2 separate regions of the Homo sapiens genome follow, and region 2 is linked to region 1. Evidence: promoter capture Hi-C in human tissues and cell types (Jung and others, 2019). All regions are on one chromosome and are shown on one strand. The core of a region is centred on a gene start or on the middle of the fragment in contact, and the rest is flanking DNA. Distances in the headings are between cores, read along the strand shown. Region 1 holds the start of BHLHE22 (basic helix-loop-helix family member e22). Region 2 overlaps CYP7B1 (cytochrome P450 family 7 subfamily B member 1).

Region 1 (7,801 bases), core at 3,030-5,529:
CATCGTCATGGAAATTGTTTTAATAATCATAATTAGACGCACCCAGGCTTTGTCTGGTAAATGCTGAGAGACAGGTCGGCTCCTGCCTGGGGGCTGCCCTGGTCTCCTCCCTCCTTCTGCCCTCACTCCCAGTCTGGGAGGGCTCCAGCTTCAAGGCCCTTTGCAGTTATGTTTTCTGAAAAGTTACAAGTTCTGATTAATCTTTTTTGATGGCAAGTGGAGTAGAAAATATCCTTCCTCACCCCCCACTAAGTTTGATGGCATTTAGGGATATCTTTATGAGCAGAGGCTGTATAGAAAAAAATGCATTTAGCATACTGGGTACAGAGGAAACATCTAACTTCTGCACCACCACCACTACTATCTCTGCAACCTGTGCCACAGTAAAAAATCACACCTTCTATATTTGAGGGCAATATAAAGGTCAAAATACAAGTCTCGACAGTCATTCTTTAACAGAATCAAAGCCTAAATCCAAACACGGAACCTAAAAATCTCATCATCAAGCAACACTAGTAAAATTCTGATCATCTCTATGGGCATTGTGTATGCTTATATGATTCAAGTTAATTCTTTTTATCACAAAAAAGTAGAAAGTCACAGTGAAATCAGTGCTCAGAGAATCCAAGTCCATTTTTTTTCCTTGCCCTTCACGCATTTGGAGGTAGAAATTTTGATGACAAACTCTTAAGAAACTTTACCCTCTTTGACGGGCCCTGGCATGGTTAACAGTGCCATACAAGTGGAAAAAGATTTCCAGGGAGAATGTGGCCTTCAAAGTTCATGCCAGTAGCCAGAAACTTGGAATCTCTTCTGGGTTTCACCACTGACCCCATTCATCTCTCCTCCTTGTAACAAGTAAACAAGTAAATTAGGGCTACTTCTAATTGTGCATCCCTGCAAAAACTTTAGTTCCACCTTCTCTGAAACTCCTTTCTTTTTTGTTACCTTTCAAGCAAAGAGTAACACAGAAGAGAGGTGATTGCTTCTTCCACAAAGCACAGCATAATAAAATGTTTGATCAAAATATTTTAATAAAGATTCTTTCTGACATAGATACACATACAAATGGTCGTACATAGCTGTCATAGTCTGATTGACCTATTTAATATATATATCATTCTTTACACATCCAAAACCCGCCAACAGATCCATCACAGCTCCCAACTCACCATCCAACCTGACAAACTGAATTTGTATTATCTGCAAGGAGTGGAAAATAGCAGGACTCCATTTTTAAAAAAGATTTTCTTGATTTTCATAGGGCGGAAAGGCAGTCAAACAGCCATGCAAAACTAAAACTGAAAGCTCACTTTGGGTAAATAGCTTCTTGTTCTTCCTTAGTTTTCTTTCTTTTTAAATTTTATTTTTTTAGAAAAATAACAAAGGATTTCACACCATAGGCAAATCAAACCAGTCTTTTAACTTAAATAATTCTCCACAGTTAAAATAACATATATGTACATATATATTAAAAGCAATTAAATTAGACCTTTTAAAAATGCACAGCACAGCCTGGAAAAATATTTGCTTAGCATGTTCTTACGTATAGCAACTATTGCTGTGATGTTTTTCCCTTTTGGAATGTAAAGGAGTCCCCTTTCAAAAAAGAGATCAATTCATTCATCAATTAAGAATACACCTTTCCTGTAATTTTTGGACTGAAGCAATTTATTAAAGCTCAATTTAAATACAGGGATGATGCAACTGAAAATATCCAGGTGACCTTTCATAAACCTAAGCAGCTCAGATACATCAATATTTCTCTTCATACTTGTTGGCAAATAAACCTTTAAACACTTGGCACACAGCATAAGTAATCTATAAAACAATTTTAGAGGCATTAAAAAAATCTGCACATAAGACCCATGACTTTAACACATGATAAATACTGTTGATGTGGAAGGGTCATTGAAGAATAACAAATAAATACCATGAATTGTTAATACATCATTGCAGAGTAGAAAGTAACAAGGTGCACATAAATATTTTTAAATGCAATTCTTTCAGCCACAGTCAGTTTTTTTATATCACTCTCGCCAAAACTTTGAGCATTTTCACAGGATTAAAGTTCAGAGACAATAAAAAATACAAGTCTTTCATAGTAACATGTCTCTCTCTCTCGCTCTCTCTCTCTCTCTGGGTTTTATTTCCCCCTCACTTAAGTCAACATTTCAAGTTTTTCTCCTGGCTCAGAATCAAAATTTATTTTCAAGTGCCCTTTCTGATTTGTCTGAATGAATATTCCATCTCTCATGCTACCCAACCCCTAACCCCTCCTCTCCCCCTCAGCACTAGCCAAATCCACAATTATTAGTAGGATTAGTATTTTGCCATTCAAACACTCTCCAGGCTTAATAACCAAGCACTACTTCTCAACTTATGTTTCACCTTTAAGGAAGATTCCACTTCCTCGCGGTCTAGGCTGCCACCAAAGTTGCCACTTTTCTGAGAAAAAAAAGACATCCATACTCCATCCCAACTCCACCTCCCTCCTCCCTCCCTCCCCACCCCAAAGACCGAGATTCTGGGGATGTCAAGGCTAAAAGTCCCGTTTGTCTCTGATACTTCTCCTCAGTTCTTGCCTCTGCTTTGTTTGCTCTGCAAGTGTTTCACAACTACGAGAGGACCAAAATAAAGGGGGTGGGGAGCAGCTTTTCGCTTTCCTCTAGATTTTGGGTCGGTCTTGTGTTTTTCGGGGGTGTGTTTAAGGCTTCTCCGTGCACTGTTTGCAGAGGCTGGAGGAGACGCTGTTAAACAGGGCGCACTTCTCCGGGCAGGAGGCAGCCGGGGGCAGTCCGGCGCTGAACGGGTAGCCGGCTGCCTGCTCGTAGGCGCCGAGCGCCGGGTGCAGGGCAGCAGCTGCTGCCGCTGCAGCCGCCGAGCTGGGCAGGGAGGCAGCCGAGATGGCCTGGCCCTGGTTGAGGTAGGCGACTAGGCGCCGCATCTCCTCCAGGGCCTGCGCCTGCATGAGGATGTAGTTCTTGGCGAGCAGCAGCGTGGCGATCTTGGAGAGCTTTCGCACCGAGGGGCTGTGCGCGTAGGGGATCACCGCGCGCAGCTCGTCCAGCGCGTCGTTCAGGTCGTGCATCCGCCGGCGCTCTCGGGCATTGATGTTAAGCCGCAGCGCCTTTTGCTCTTTGGATTTCTTGCTGCTGCTGCTGCTGCTGCTGCTGCTGCCGCCGCTGCCGCTACCGCTACCGCCACCGCCGCCACTGCTACCGCTGCTGCTACCCCCGCCGCCGCCGCCGCCCAGGCCCCCCGGGGGGACGCTGGCGCCGCCGTGGAGGTGGGCATTGGAGCAGCCCTCGGCTGCCTTCGCGCCACCACCTCCCGCTCCCGGGGAGGCCCGCGGGTCGGCTACTCCGGCCCGCAGCACGAGCTCGCAGCGACCGTCGCTGTCGTCGTCGGGGCTCTGCTCGCCGCCGCTGCTCTCGGCCACCGAGCCCCGGCTCGCGCTTTCGCCGTACTTGAGGCAAAGGGCGGCCCCGGCCGGCAGGCTGCTTAGGCTAGGGTCGCCCCCAACGCCGGCTGAACCTACTAGCAGCCCGGGGACACCCACCCCGCCGCCGCCGCCGCCGCCACTTCCCGCGCTGCCGCCGCCGCCTCCTCCAGGCGGCGGCAACAGCAGCCCTGCCCCCTCGGGGTCAGCCGGCTCGAAGCAGCCCAGGGGCGACGAGGAGGAGGACGCCGGGCGTTCCCGAGGCGGCGGCGCCAGGGACAGGTCCATGCCCGGGGGCGTGGAGCGGAAAGCCGCTTCCAAGCGCTTGGAGGTGGAGGCGCTCAGGCTCTTGTGCAGGAAGAGGTCGTCCTCGCCGGCGGCCGCTGCACCGAGGTGCATCCCGCGCTCCATGGTCCCGCGCCGGCGCGCAGCCCGGGCCGCCGCGCCCGCTGCCGCCGCCGCCGCCTCGGCCCCGGAGTCAGGCGGCCCCACAGACGCGCGCGAGCTGGGCTCCGGAGCTGGTGCGCGCGTCGGTCCTGGTGCTGCCGGGAGCCCTCTCCCCTTCTTTCTTTTTCTTTTTCGCCTTCCCCCGCGCTCGCCGCCTCCTCTTCTTCTTCTTCTTCGTCTCCAGCCGATGGTGCTGGCTGCTGGGGCTCACCATGGGCCGCGGCCCCGCATGGTGGGAGGGTGGGCGCGGAGGGAGTGGAGCCGCCGCCGCCGCCGCTCTGAGCCCAGCCCCGCGCCTCCTCTCCGCACCGTTTATCTTGCTTGGATTCACCTTCAAGAGATTTCCGGACCCATCAAACAGCCGCCGCCACAGACGGGGGAGTCTTTTACATCATTATCTCTGAGTAGGTTATTATGAAGAAGACTCGCCTGTTGGGACAGCGCTTTCTACCCAATCAGGTTAACGTTTTAATTAATAGGATTAAAACGGTAACAAACAATCGCAGGCGCTATCTGGCCGCAAGTCTGAATAGTTTCATTTCCCAGGTCTGAAGACAGGCAGCAGCTAGAGCTTTATAAAAGGCGCCTGCTCCATTATTCTGCCTGCCATCTGTATACACAGCTTAGCGCATATGTTTGCAAGGCGCTGGGTCCTGTTAGTAACCCAACAACTGCCTTTAGCTTGACATGTGTGGCGACTTTCACTCATCAATGAGCACACTAAAAGCCCTACTTAGAGCCGAGGATGTTCTTTGCTCCTTCAGCAAATTGTAGATCGGCGGCGAAGCCTGGGAGTCCTGTGGAAAGCAGACGCCCCCACCCACCGCACCCCACCCCCCACTGCCCTTCCCTCGCCACTGCTGTCTCAGCTTGTGCTAAATTACCCTTCCGGGCGAGAATTATACTCCACCCCTGTTCGTAGGATGACTGGTCTGGATTTGGGGATGGGACTTTCCGAGAGAAGGTGGTGTCCCAGCTGGCTTGCCCAAAATTCACTCTAGGTTTTCAGCTGGTCAGAGAGCAAAGCAGTCGTCCCCCCGAACACTCTGCCTCGTTTCCACACCCGCCACTGCCCATTTCCTACCCAGATTGGAAAAAAAGAAAGAAAAAAGCAAAATGAAGAGCAAGTGATCATGCAGCCCATTTTTTTTTAAGGTGGGGTGGCAGTGATTTTGCAGTGGTCTCCAAATAACTGTTACAGTGATGGTAATTGTGAAGTACACAATTTCCTAAACAGGAAGAAAACAAACAAACAAACCGGTTTCTCAAACTTTCCTTAAGATGAAAATCTGATTGCTTCAAAAGAGTCAACTTCACCAGGAGTCAAATCCGCTCCCACACGAAGTGAGGCATTTATGCATATTTATTTACCCGGAAGCCATTTAAGGACATCTGGATCAGCCTCGGTTGTTCTTGGAGGGTTCGGGAAGGGAGAATGTAAAAACAAGTGCTCCTCTCCGGATGGGCACTGGTACACGCGGTCATCTCACTCCTGAGTTCGGTCTCTGGGTACACATGGTATTTAGCAGCTGGTTTTCATCCTTATGACATAAGTAAAAACAATATTTCCCAACACCTTCCAATAACTCTTTCTTATATGGCAGAAGTACTGAAGACTATGCAATTTTTGGTTTCTCTGGTTTCATTAAAAACCTTTTAATTGTGGCTTTCGGAGTTGGCCCCAGGTGTTGGACTCTTTTCATTACATTTTGCTCTAATGTGATGAAATTCTAATTCTCTCCTTACCATATGGTTAAATTTCCCCACTGAGAATTAGTTGAAAAAGGAGAAATAATCTATTAATCTCTGTAATAGATTCACAAATGAGGTTCGCCACAGAACCTGTTTTTGAATGGTAATATCAGAACAGTTGGGCACCTTATTTCATAAAGGAAGGGTGAGGGCGACACAAAAATGTCTGTATTTTCACCTGGAAAGGATGAAAGGGGCTCAGCAGTATCTTCCATAATAATTCCCTGAGATCCAGTCTTCCGGGGACAGAAATACTACGTAGACGTCGGTTACCTACGCTCCTTTGGATGTCCTGGAACCTAAAGACTGAGAAAGATCAGGCGGGGCTACGGGAGGCTCTTGTGCCTGGGACCGAGACCGGGGGTTCTGCAGGCTTGAGCGGTCCCACTTGTCTCGTCTGGGACCCCGAGGCTGTTTACATGCAGGGCAGCCCCTCGCTCACCGCACCCCTCCCACCGTCCCTCCCCCGGCGTTCGCAGCTGTTAACCTCTCCCTTTAGAAAGCTAAAGACACGCTAGTGTTATTGTTTTTCAATTAGCAGCTTTGTTTTCACTGGGATCATAAACAAAGGTTCTCTCTAAACATAGGTGGGTCGTGTATGCATGACACTAACTTATCAAAGTCCTTGGGTCACTTTCGGGAGGGCGGAGGCTGGCCCGGTCGTGGCTCTGGGCAGGATGGGGACACATCTCACAATGTCTGACTTAGTTCTCCAGCCAGCTTGCCCTTTTTGTGGGCTGCCACCTTCTGCGGGGCGCCAGGATTCTTGCCGGCCCGAAGTGGACATTTGAAGGGCGAAGGATCGATCATGTCAGGGACTGGTGGGGGGTGCCATGCGGGGCTGTGAGCGGCAGAGCCGGGATGGCAGAGCAGGGGCGACACTGAGGGCGGCAAAGGCCCTGCCAGCTCAGCTAGACCCAGGATCTTCGCAGGACCTTTGTCTTTCGCCCTTAGGCAACAAACACTTGAGCGCATCTCGTGGCCCTTCCCGACCCCATCTCCACGACCTCCTGCCACCTCCCTCCTCTCCCTGGCCATCCAAGCTTCTGGAACAAACTTTTGCACAACTTCATTTTACTCGGTAGGAGCCAAAAGCCTCTTCCTTTTGTAATTCAAGAAAATCCCCCTAGTCTTCCCGGAGGAGGTGGCTGCTTAATAGTCGCTGAAAACTTTGCTTTGGGAAAAGGCCGAAGAATTTATGGAAGCTCTAAATACCGGCCTTATAACAACCGATAGGGAATGGTCTTTGAGGTTTATGCACTCGTAAACTTTTGCTGATTGCTTCTGGGAAGTTGTCAGGCACTTAACACTGCATTTATCTTACAGGGCAATGAAAACACATCTGCCCGGTGTCTCGTTACTTGGTTTAATCGTCGCCAGCCCTAAGTCACGGCCTCGGCTCCCTCTCCTCAACTGTGTGGGATCCCGCCGCCTGGTTTCGGCCGGGCGGAGGGGTGACGTCAGCCGCTCACACAGTGCCCCCTGGCCGCTGGAGCTCGGGAAATCTGTGCGCTCGAACTTGGCTCCGCCAAGAAGCTGGGCAAGGATCCGGGCTCCTGATGGAACTGGCAAGTTGGAAAAGTGGCAAAGGAAAAGCCAACATGAGCGCTTTCGGCTTGCGCGGGCAGAAAGGGTGGGAAATCAGGCCACGGCGAAATCTTCTGACTCACAGATGACCGCTTAGAATGAAAACTACGGAAGGGAAGTCCTCTGACTCTGCAGTTTCACAGAGAGTCACTGAGTTACCAAAGCAGTTGGGAAACAGAGGCAGAGGACTGCCCCCACTCTGTCCGCAGCAGGGGTATGGGAGGCAGCTCGGGACACTCCAGGGACCAAGCGGGCAGTGGGCGCCGTCCCCGAGGAACACCCAGCCCAGCGCCCCTGGTTCTGGGCTGGTTGGCTTATCGAGGCCGGTTGGCCAAAGCATCAGGAAAGGGAACATTCTCGGCCGGGTGTTGGATACCAAATTATAAACGCCAGAGCACCTTGTGTAAAGATGAATATCGTTTTGTTACTGCGGGAGGGAATACACCTACTGCTTTGAAAGGAGTTTAAAATATTCAGCAGACAGCACCGCATTGAAATTAGTGCATTGAGCTGCAGACCAAACTAATTTCTAGGTACTATTTAAATTTCTTAATGATCATCTTGATATTTGCT
Region 2 (7,801 bases), core at 2,679-5,178, 160 kb before region 1:
GATTGAAAAAATTTGCCATTTATATCATCTGGTCCTGGTGCTTTCTTTTTGGGAGATTATTAGTTAGGAACTGGATTTTTTTTGATAGATATAGGCCTATTCAAAAGATATATTCCTCCTTTTATGAGTTTTGGTAGTTCATGTCTTTTAAGGAATTGGCCCGTTTCAACTAAGTTGTGAAATTTGTGGGCATAGAGTTTTTCATAATATTCCTATATGAATCTTTTAACATTCATTGGATCTATAGTGATTACCCCTCTTTCATTTCTAATATTGGCAAGTTATATCTTCTCTGTTTTTTTTTTCTTTTCTTGTTAGCCTGGCTAGAGATTTATCAAATTTATTGATATTTTCAAACAGTCACCTTTGGTTTTGTTGATTTTCTCTATTTTTTTCCTAATTGTAATTTTATTTGTCTTTTATAAGGTATACTATTTCATTTCTTCTGCTTGCTTTATGCTTAAGTTGCTCATTTCTATAATTTCTTGAGTTGAATGCTAAATTATTGATTATAGATCTTCTTTTATAATTTATGCAGTTATATCATAAACATAATATGTAAATATATATATTATTGACTGATGTACTTCCTTGACCCATGTTTTATTTAGGAATTTGTTGTTTAATTCGCAAATATGTGGAGATTTTTCAGCTTTTATTCAATTTTTGATTTCTAGCTTAATTTGACTGTGGTCTGAGAAAACACTTTGTATAATCTCTTAAATTTGTTAAGGTGTGACTTACAGCCCAGGATGTGGTCTGTCTTGTTAAGTGTTCTCTGTAAGCTTGAGAGGAATGTTTATTTTACGGGTTTTTCTTCTCCAGTGTTCTTCCTCTCTATATAGATCCATGTTTTGTTTTGTTTAATCTATATCATTTTTCTTCTCCCTAAAGAAGTTCTTTTAACATTTCTTGCAGGGTAGGTTGTCTAGTGATGAATTCCCTGTTTTTGTCTGAAAAAGGTCTCTATATATCTCTTTCAGTTTTGAAGGATAATTTTGGTGGATATCAAATTTTAAGTTGATTTTTTTCCTTTCAACACTTTAAATATTTCAATCCACTCTTCTTTCTTGAATGAAAAGAAGTCTACCATAATTCTTATCCTCTTCTGGTTTCTTTCAAGATTTTCTCTAATCTATTTGTTTTTTAGTTTGAATATGATATGTCAAGATGTGAATATTCAGGAGAACCACTTGGTGCTCTTTGAATTTTCTGTGTATGTTATTTCATGTCTGTCATTAATTTGGAAAATTCGAAGGCATTATTACATCAAATATTTCTTCCATTTTGATCTCTCTTTTCTTCTAGTATTCTAATGATACATCTGTTACACATTTTGAAATTGTCCCACAATTCTTTCATGGCCTATTCTGTTTTCTTCATTCTTTGAGGTAAACAGACATTTTAGTTAGAGAATTTATTGAAGTCTTGCTAGGTGTTAGGCTGTGTTTAATGTTTGATGTAGTGGTAGGTGCCAGGGGCCTCAACTTCCTCTAGTGTTCTCGTTTTTGTCTCCACTTTTGTCCTTGAGCTTCGCTAGGAATTCTTCCTTAAATAGAGTCTATGTGTTTTCTACTCTTCCCAGTAAACTACCATTATACCAGAGTCCTGCTAATATAGTGGTAAGGCATGGGAGAGGAAAAGCATTCCATAATCTTATGATTAAATCTCAGTCTTTTAGGGGGCCTGTATTCCTGGGCTGTGACCTTCACCAATGTTTCTTAGCTTCCCTCAATTCCCTTAGGTGAGACAGAAAAGCTAGAGAAAGTCCACTAGGAGAAATGCCCTGTGCCTGGGGCGGGGGTAAGGCTCTGGTAAAATCTTTCCCCTGGAGACTAAGCCTTTGTTATAGAAAATGCTCTGAATATTTCACAAATACTCTTTCCCTCTGCCTGCCAGAGACAGAAGGGAATCTGTTTTAGCTCTTCTCTGTGAGAACATGGCAGGGTTCCTGGAGGTAAAACCCATAAAAGTGTTGGGGAGCCCAAGACTATGGCTCCCAGGAGTTTCTCACTGTTAATACTAGTCCACACTCACCCCCCAGGAATTTGTCAAAATTACCATTTAAGTGTTTCCTACCAGTTTATGACTCCAGTGGCTTCTGTTTCAGGTAAACTGATCTTGGCTGTCAACTCTTTGGATTAGCCTGGTTCTCCAGATTTTGGGGTGGCAGTTTGCCCTGCAAGCTCAGTTCTCTGAAGCTTCCAAGAAAAATTGTTGATTTTTAGTTCATTTAGCTTTTCTTTTTGTACAGACGTAAGTGATGACTTCCCAGCTCTTTACATATTGGAGCTGAAACCAGAAGTTTAGTTAGTATCTTGATTAGAAAAGGAACCCAAATTATGTTTTATATGCGTGTGTGTGTGTGTGTGCGTGTGTGTGTGTTTTCTTGTATTATATTCTATCCTGATAAAATTAGGGAGAAAACAGTTTCTTTTAAATCAGTGATCAAACACTGAAAAGAGAACAATGATCTGATTTGCCAACGATTCTGTGAACATAGCTTCTTATAGGAAAATGCTGCTGAGCTAGTAGTTTCTTTGAGAAGATTTTTTTTTCTTTCTTAATAGAGTAGCACATTTAAAGTGTTAGAAATTCAGTTTTTGAAAAAACTTTTCTGGGATTTTTAAGAATGCTAAATATATGGAGTGCTTATTGGTATCTATAAACCAATCACAATCTTTTTTATTTCTAGAGACTTCACAATATAAATTTTTAATTACTCCAGAGTTAGAAAAGTATTTTTACAATTACACATGAGAAGTAAATTCTTTTCTCAGTAGAGGTATGCAGATACTCAGAGAACTTACAGCTTTACTTTTACATATTCAGCTCTAGGTCAGAATAAACCTAGAATATAAAAATTCATATCTGAAAGAGAGTCTCCTTTTCAATGGAAGGTAAGACATACATTTGCACAGACAGACAGGAAAGCAAAAAGACTAACAAACCAGTATCTCTGTTGTCTCTCATCTGAAAAAGGGCAATTCCTGTCTCTACACAAAAGAGATCACCAAATAAGTAGAACATAAAACCAAATTCCCAGTTACTGCTGCCACCAATCGGGAATAACCTGTTGGCTATGCACAAGCAAGAATAAGAACAACATTGGCCAAGAACAAAAACCAAACAAACAAAAACACAAGTCAGAAGAAAAAAAATAGAAAAATTTAGTCAGCAAACCTGAAATTCTGTTGCCTCTTGGAATCCTTTCATTCCAGGATCCAAGAAAAGATGGACTGAGAAGAGGAGCCTAGGAGGTATATTTTCAGGCAATGCAGTTTAATTGACTTCTCAGGCATCTTGGTACTTACAAGGCATAATTTTTGAAAAGTTAAAAATATGATTCTTATACAAATATGGAAAGAACATGCATTAACATTTATTTAACTCTTTAATGAGGGAACTAGCAGGATGAAAAAGCTGGATTATGCTTTACAGATTTTAATGCCAAGCTGAGAGTACTGGATTTGAGCTAGTGCACTTTATCACTTTTAGTTTTGCTATTTGAGATTTTACATGGCCAAAGTGGTCCAAATCTAACAGACTTGCCAATGTAGCTGTTTCTTTTGTTCTCTTTTTTCATTAAAAAGAAAAACAAAACAAGAATTATGTACATTTTTTCTTTATATTGAGGGATAATCTTTAAATGGAGCCAGGCATGGTGGCCCATGCCTGTAGTTCCAATTACTCGGGAGGCTGAGACCAGAGGATTGATTGAGTCCAGGAGTTCAAGGTTGCAGTGAGCTATGATCATATCATTGCACTCTGTCTAGCCTGGGTGACAAAGTGAGACAATATCACACACACAAAATAGATTTTTAAAAATGGACTGATTTAGGATATTTTTCATTCACTATATAATCACTGTACACAGAGAGCTCTAGAAAATGTTTTCTGTCTCATTAATTTATTTGTTAAAACATACTTATTGAGAGTCAGGTATTGTGCCAAGAATATAAGGGTAGAAAAGATAGACATGCCTCTGTCCTTAGAGATTTTACAGTTCAGCCTCAAGTATTACTAGGTAAAAATTTAAAATAACATATCTGTTATAGACAGTAGACAGAATTAGATTAGATTTGAGATATGGATTTGGTAAAATGAAAAGTAACTAAAAGAGAGCAAGAAAATAAAATTTTTGAAACTCCCAGGAATTAAAAAAAAATTCAGCCCAGGTGTGGTGGCTCACACCTGTAATCCCAGCACTTTGGGAGGCTGAGGCGGGAGGATCACGAGGTCAGGAGTTCGAGACCAGCCTGACCAACATGGTGAAACCCCATCTCTACTAAAAATACAAAAATTAGCTGGGTGTGGTGGCAGGCACCTGTAGTCCCAGCTACTTGGGAGGCTAAGGCAGGAGAATTGCTTGAATCCAGGAGGCGGAGGTTGCAGTGAGCCAAGATCATGCCACTGCACTCCAGCCTGGGCAACAGAGCAAAAGTCTGTCTCAAAAAAATAAAATAAATAAAAATTCAGGTTGGGTTAGTTTTTGACTAAAGCGAAGATATTTGTTTGTATTTTCTTGCATTTTTTGTTTCTCTTGCCCAGCCTTCTTTTTCCATTTGATCCATTCGTGTGTCATCTGAACATTCCATAAGAGATGGATGGAGCACTAAGGGAAGAGAAGCATATGTCAGATGATTGCAATGATTTGAATCTAATATTGGTAGAAGAAGTTGAAGAAGTGACTGATTTGGGATTTATATGGGTGTTTTTCTCGTGGAAATGGCAAAATCAAGATCTATATTTTTAGTGACACATTCAAGGTGTGTGTTTATTTCCATAATAGGGATGTAAACACAAAGACTTCCTGATAAATTAATTTATTTTTCTAGATACCTTGATTCTGTAGTGATAATTATTGTTTGATGTTGTCAGAAGATAAAAGGCATTTACTCACCAGGAAGTATATAATACTTAGGGCATGGGTGAAAACATTAAAAATTTATTTTTATTTTTTAATTATGCCTTTAAAAATTTCTTCTTTTAAGCATGCTTTACAACTTATATTAGTATTGTAGGGGAAGAAACATAATTTTACCTTTCTCTCTCGATCAGGCACTGTGGAGACAGATACACTAGAGTCCCTCTGTGAGAATTCTTACCCTTTTCCAGTTTTCCCAGGATCCCATCTGCAGGCTCCACAGCAAATGGGATGTCCCACAGATCCCATTCTCATTGCCAGAATTGTAGGGGAAGAATTATAATTTTCTCTCTACTTTTTGTGAGTTATTTGCTGGGACCTCCCCCTTCCCCGTAACAAAAGACAGATTAATAAGATAAAAACAAATAGAGGCTTATTAACATGTATACCTCATGTATACATGAAAATAAATCTCAAGGAAGGGGTTTTGAGTTCAGATTTAAATATCACCGTCAGCTGAAACAAAGAAACATTTTGGAAAGGTTAGTTATGGAAAGGTGACCAGGAAAAGCACACCTAACAAAGGTAAGTTTTGTTATCCAGATATAAATAGACACCTTCTCTTGTGATTAGTCATCCTTCTCTTCCTGGTACAGAGAGTGGAGACACCCTTAGAAATGGAGATTTCCTTTATAGATATAAATTTTTCTTACAAAAGGGTAACTTCTACTCTGTTTTTGACCCTCTCCTGTGTCTGTGATTTCTCAAAATCAGCTCAAAATAATTCTTATGCCAAAGCGACATATTTTGCAGTGCATATTTTTTCTAGTATAGTATATCCATTTTAGAAAAAATATTGTATATCCATTTTTAAATAAATATATAGATATTGAGGGAACATGCAGTTTTTATAGATCAGGAACTCACTGAGACAAGTTTAGAGAGCAGTGGTCTAGACCAGGGGTCCTCAGTCTCCAGGCCATAGACCCAGTACTGGTCCATGGTCCACCTCCTTAGCTCCACCTCCTCCAGGTCAGTGGCAGAATTAGATTCTCATAGGAGTGACCAATCCCTGGTGCCAAAAAGTTTGGGGATGCTGGTCTAGGGAGCCTATTGTCCTAAAATATTTTCCCCATTCCTTTTTCTTGGTAAAAACCAAATGAGTTATAATAGTGACCAACCTAATTTTCAGGCAACCAGTATACTTATGCTTTTGTTTAAAAAAAAGTTTGTAAAGAAAAGTGTTTATGCTTTCTGTAGTTAAAAGTTATGTTAGCAAATAAAGGGGTGTCTTTACCCAGTAGAACAGTCTAGAGATGCTTAGAACAATCTTCACATGATATATAGGACTACAAATAAACATTTGTTGACCTAGTAGGTTTTAGATACTAGGACTAGGCACTGGGGATCTGCTATGGCTTGCATGTTTATGTCCCCTTCAAAATTCATGTTGAAACTTATAATCACCAATGCAACAGCATTAAGTGGTGTGGCCATTGGGAGGTGATTAAGTCATGAGGATTATGCCATCATGAATGGATTAATGCCTTATGAAAGGGCTTGAGAACCAGGTAGGCCTGGTTTCCCTTTTTGCCCTTCCATCTTTTCTACCATGTGAAGACTCAATATTCAAGGTGCCTTTTAGAAGCAGAGATACCAGACACTGAACCTGCTGTCACCTTGATTTTGGACTTTCCAGCTTCTAGAACTGTGAGAAAATTAATTTCTGTACTTTATAAATTACCCAGTCTCAGGTATTTTGTTAGAGCAGCACTAGTGGACTAAGGATCCAGAGGTAAAAAAGGCAGATGTGATCTCTGTCCTTTTGGGGCACACAGTCTAATTTGTTTATCATACTCATAAGTTTATGATTATTAGTTATAAGAATTGAATGTGTTATTATTTGTAAAGCACTTACTACAATACCTGAGTAAAAAGTAAGCACATAAATACATATACACTATAAAGCAAAAGTACTGAATATGAACAGAATGTATAGTGGGATGGTGTTCACCTAGCCTTAGTTTCCCTGAGGAAGTGACTTTTATTTTTATTTTTTTAATTTTAATTTTAATATATTTTTTGAGATGGGGTCTGGCTCTGTTGCCCACACTGAAGTGCAGGGGCACAATCATAGCTCACTGCAGCCTCAAACTCCTGGGCTCAAGCAATCCTCCTTCCTTAGCCTCCAAAATAGCTGGGACTGTAGGCATGTACCACAATGCCTGGCTAACTAAAAAAAAATTGTAGAGATGGAGTCTCCCTAGGTTTCCCAGGCTGGTCTCCAACTTCTGGCCTCAAGTGATCCCCCTGCCTCAGCCTCCCAGGCAGCTGGGATTGCAAGCATGGGTCATAGCACATGGCAGAAGTGATTTTTAACTTGAGACCTCAAAGCTGAGTAGAAATTTCCAAGTACCTTCCAAAAATGCCAAGCCTGTGTCAGCCTTCACACAAAGGCTGGCTTTCTAGGTGTGACTTCGCAAGCAGTACTAGCGTATGGTAGAGAAGAGCTGTCCTGTGCATGTGGAACTGATTGGCGATCAAATTCTTCTTTGTAAATACTGCTCACTACTGCTGGGCAGTTGTGAGGAGATAGGAGATAATGCCCATAAAGCACTAGTTGGTCCTCAGATGGTGGGTGAGAAATGTTATCTCATCCTGTTTTACCTGCATTGGCATCAAAAGCCGCTGTGTATCCACTGGAGAGGGGAGGCCTGGAATGTAGCCTTGAGGAATTCCAAGCTCTCTTTAGTCTCTAGCGCATCAGATCATTGTTCATCCTTCAATATAGTAGGGGGACCCATCTCTTAAAGTGGTCAGATTTCACTTACATTTTCTTTTTAGCACATGGTTACTGTGCCCCTGAAAAAACTCATCAGAGTTCTCTATATATGTGTGTGTGTGTGCATACATATTGTATTAGTGCATTCTCAT

What was found. Contacts are between HindIII fragments. The study calls those that stand out against the background at their distance.
Region 2: a fragment that was not itself captured here is called in contact with the fragment with the promoter of BHLHE22 in region 1 in 1 of the 25 tissues and cell types used here (lymphoblastoid cells).

Annotation. Positions count from the first base shown.
Region 1 is chr8:64,576,843-64,584,643 of GRCh38, reverse strand. It overlaps BHLHE22 (basic helix-loop-helix family member e22), which reads right to left and starts at 4,279. Exons shown (of 1, transcript NM_152414.5): 1 at 1,017-4,279. The coding sequence starts at 3,853. The coding sequence ends at 2,708. LOC124900252 reads left to right here and starts at 4,632. Exons shown (of 2, transcript XM_047422518.1): 1 at 4,632-6,722; 2 at 6,968-7,801. The coding sequence starts at 6,475. The coding sequence ends at 7,325. It overlaps BHLHE22-AS1 (BHLHE22 antisense RNA 1), which reads left to right and starts at 2,752. Exons shown (of 2, transcript NR_152770.1): 1 at 2,752-2,926. RefSeq lists an enhancer at 3,412-3,491. The HindIII fragment of the contact is 20,885 bases long and covers 1-7,801 here.
Region 2 is chr8:64,733,120-64,740,920 of GRCh38, reverse strand. All of the region lies in intron 1 of CYP7B1 (cytochrome P450 family 7 subfamily B member 1), which reads left to right. Among named protein-coding and RNA genes, the nearest start is that of CYP7B1, 62 kb to the left of the region's middle. The HindIII fragment of the contact is 4,869 bases long and covers 1,494-6,362 here.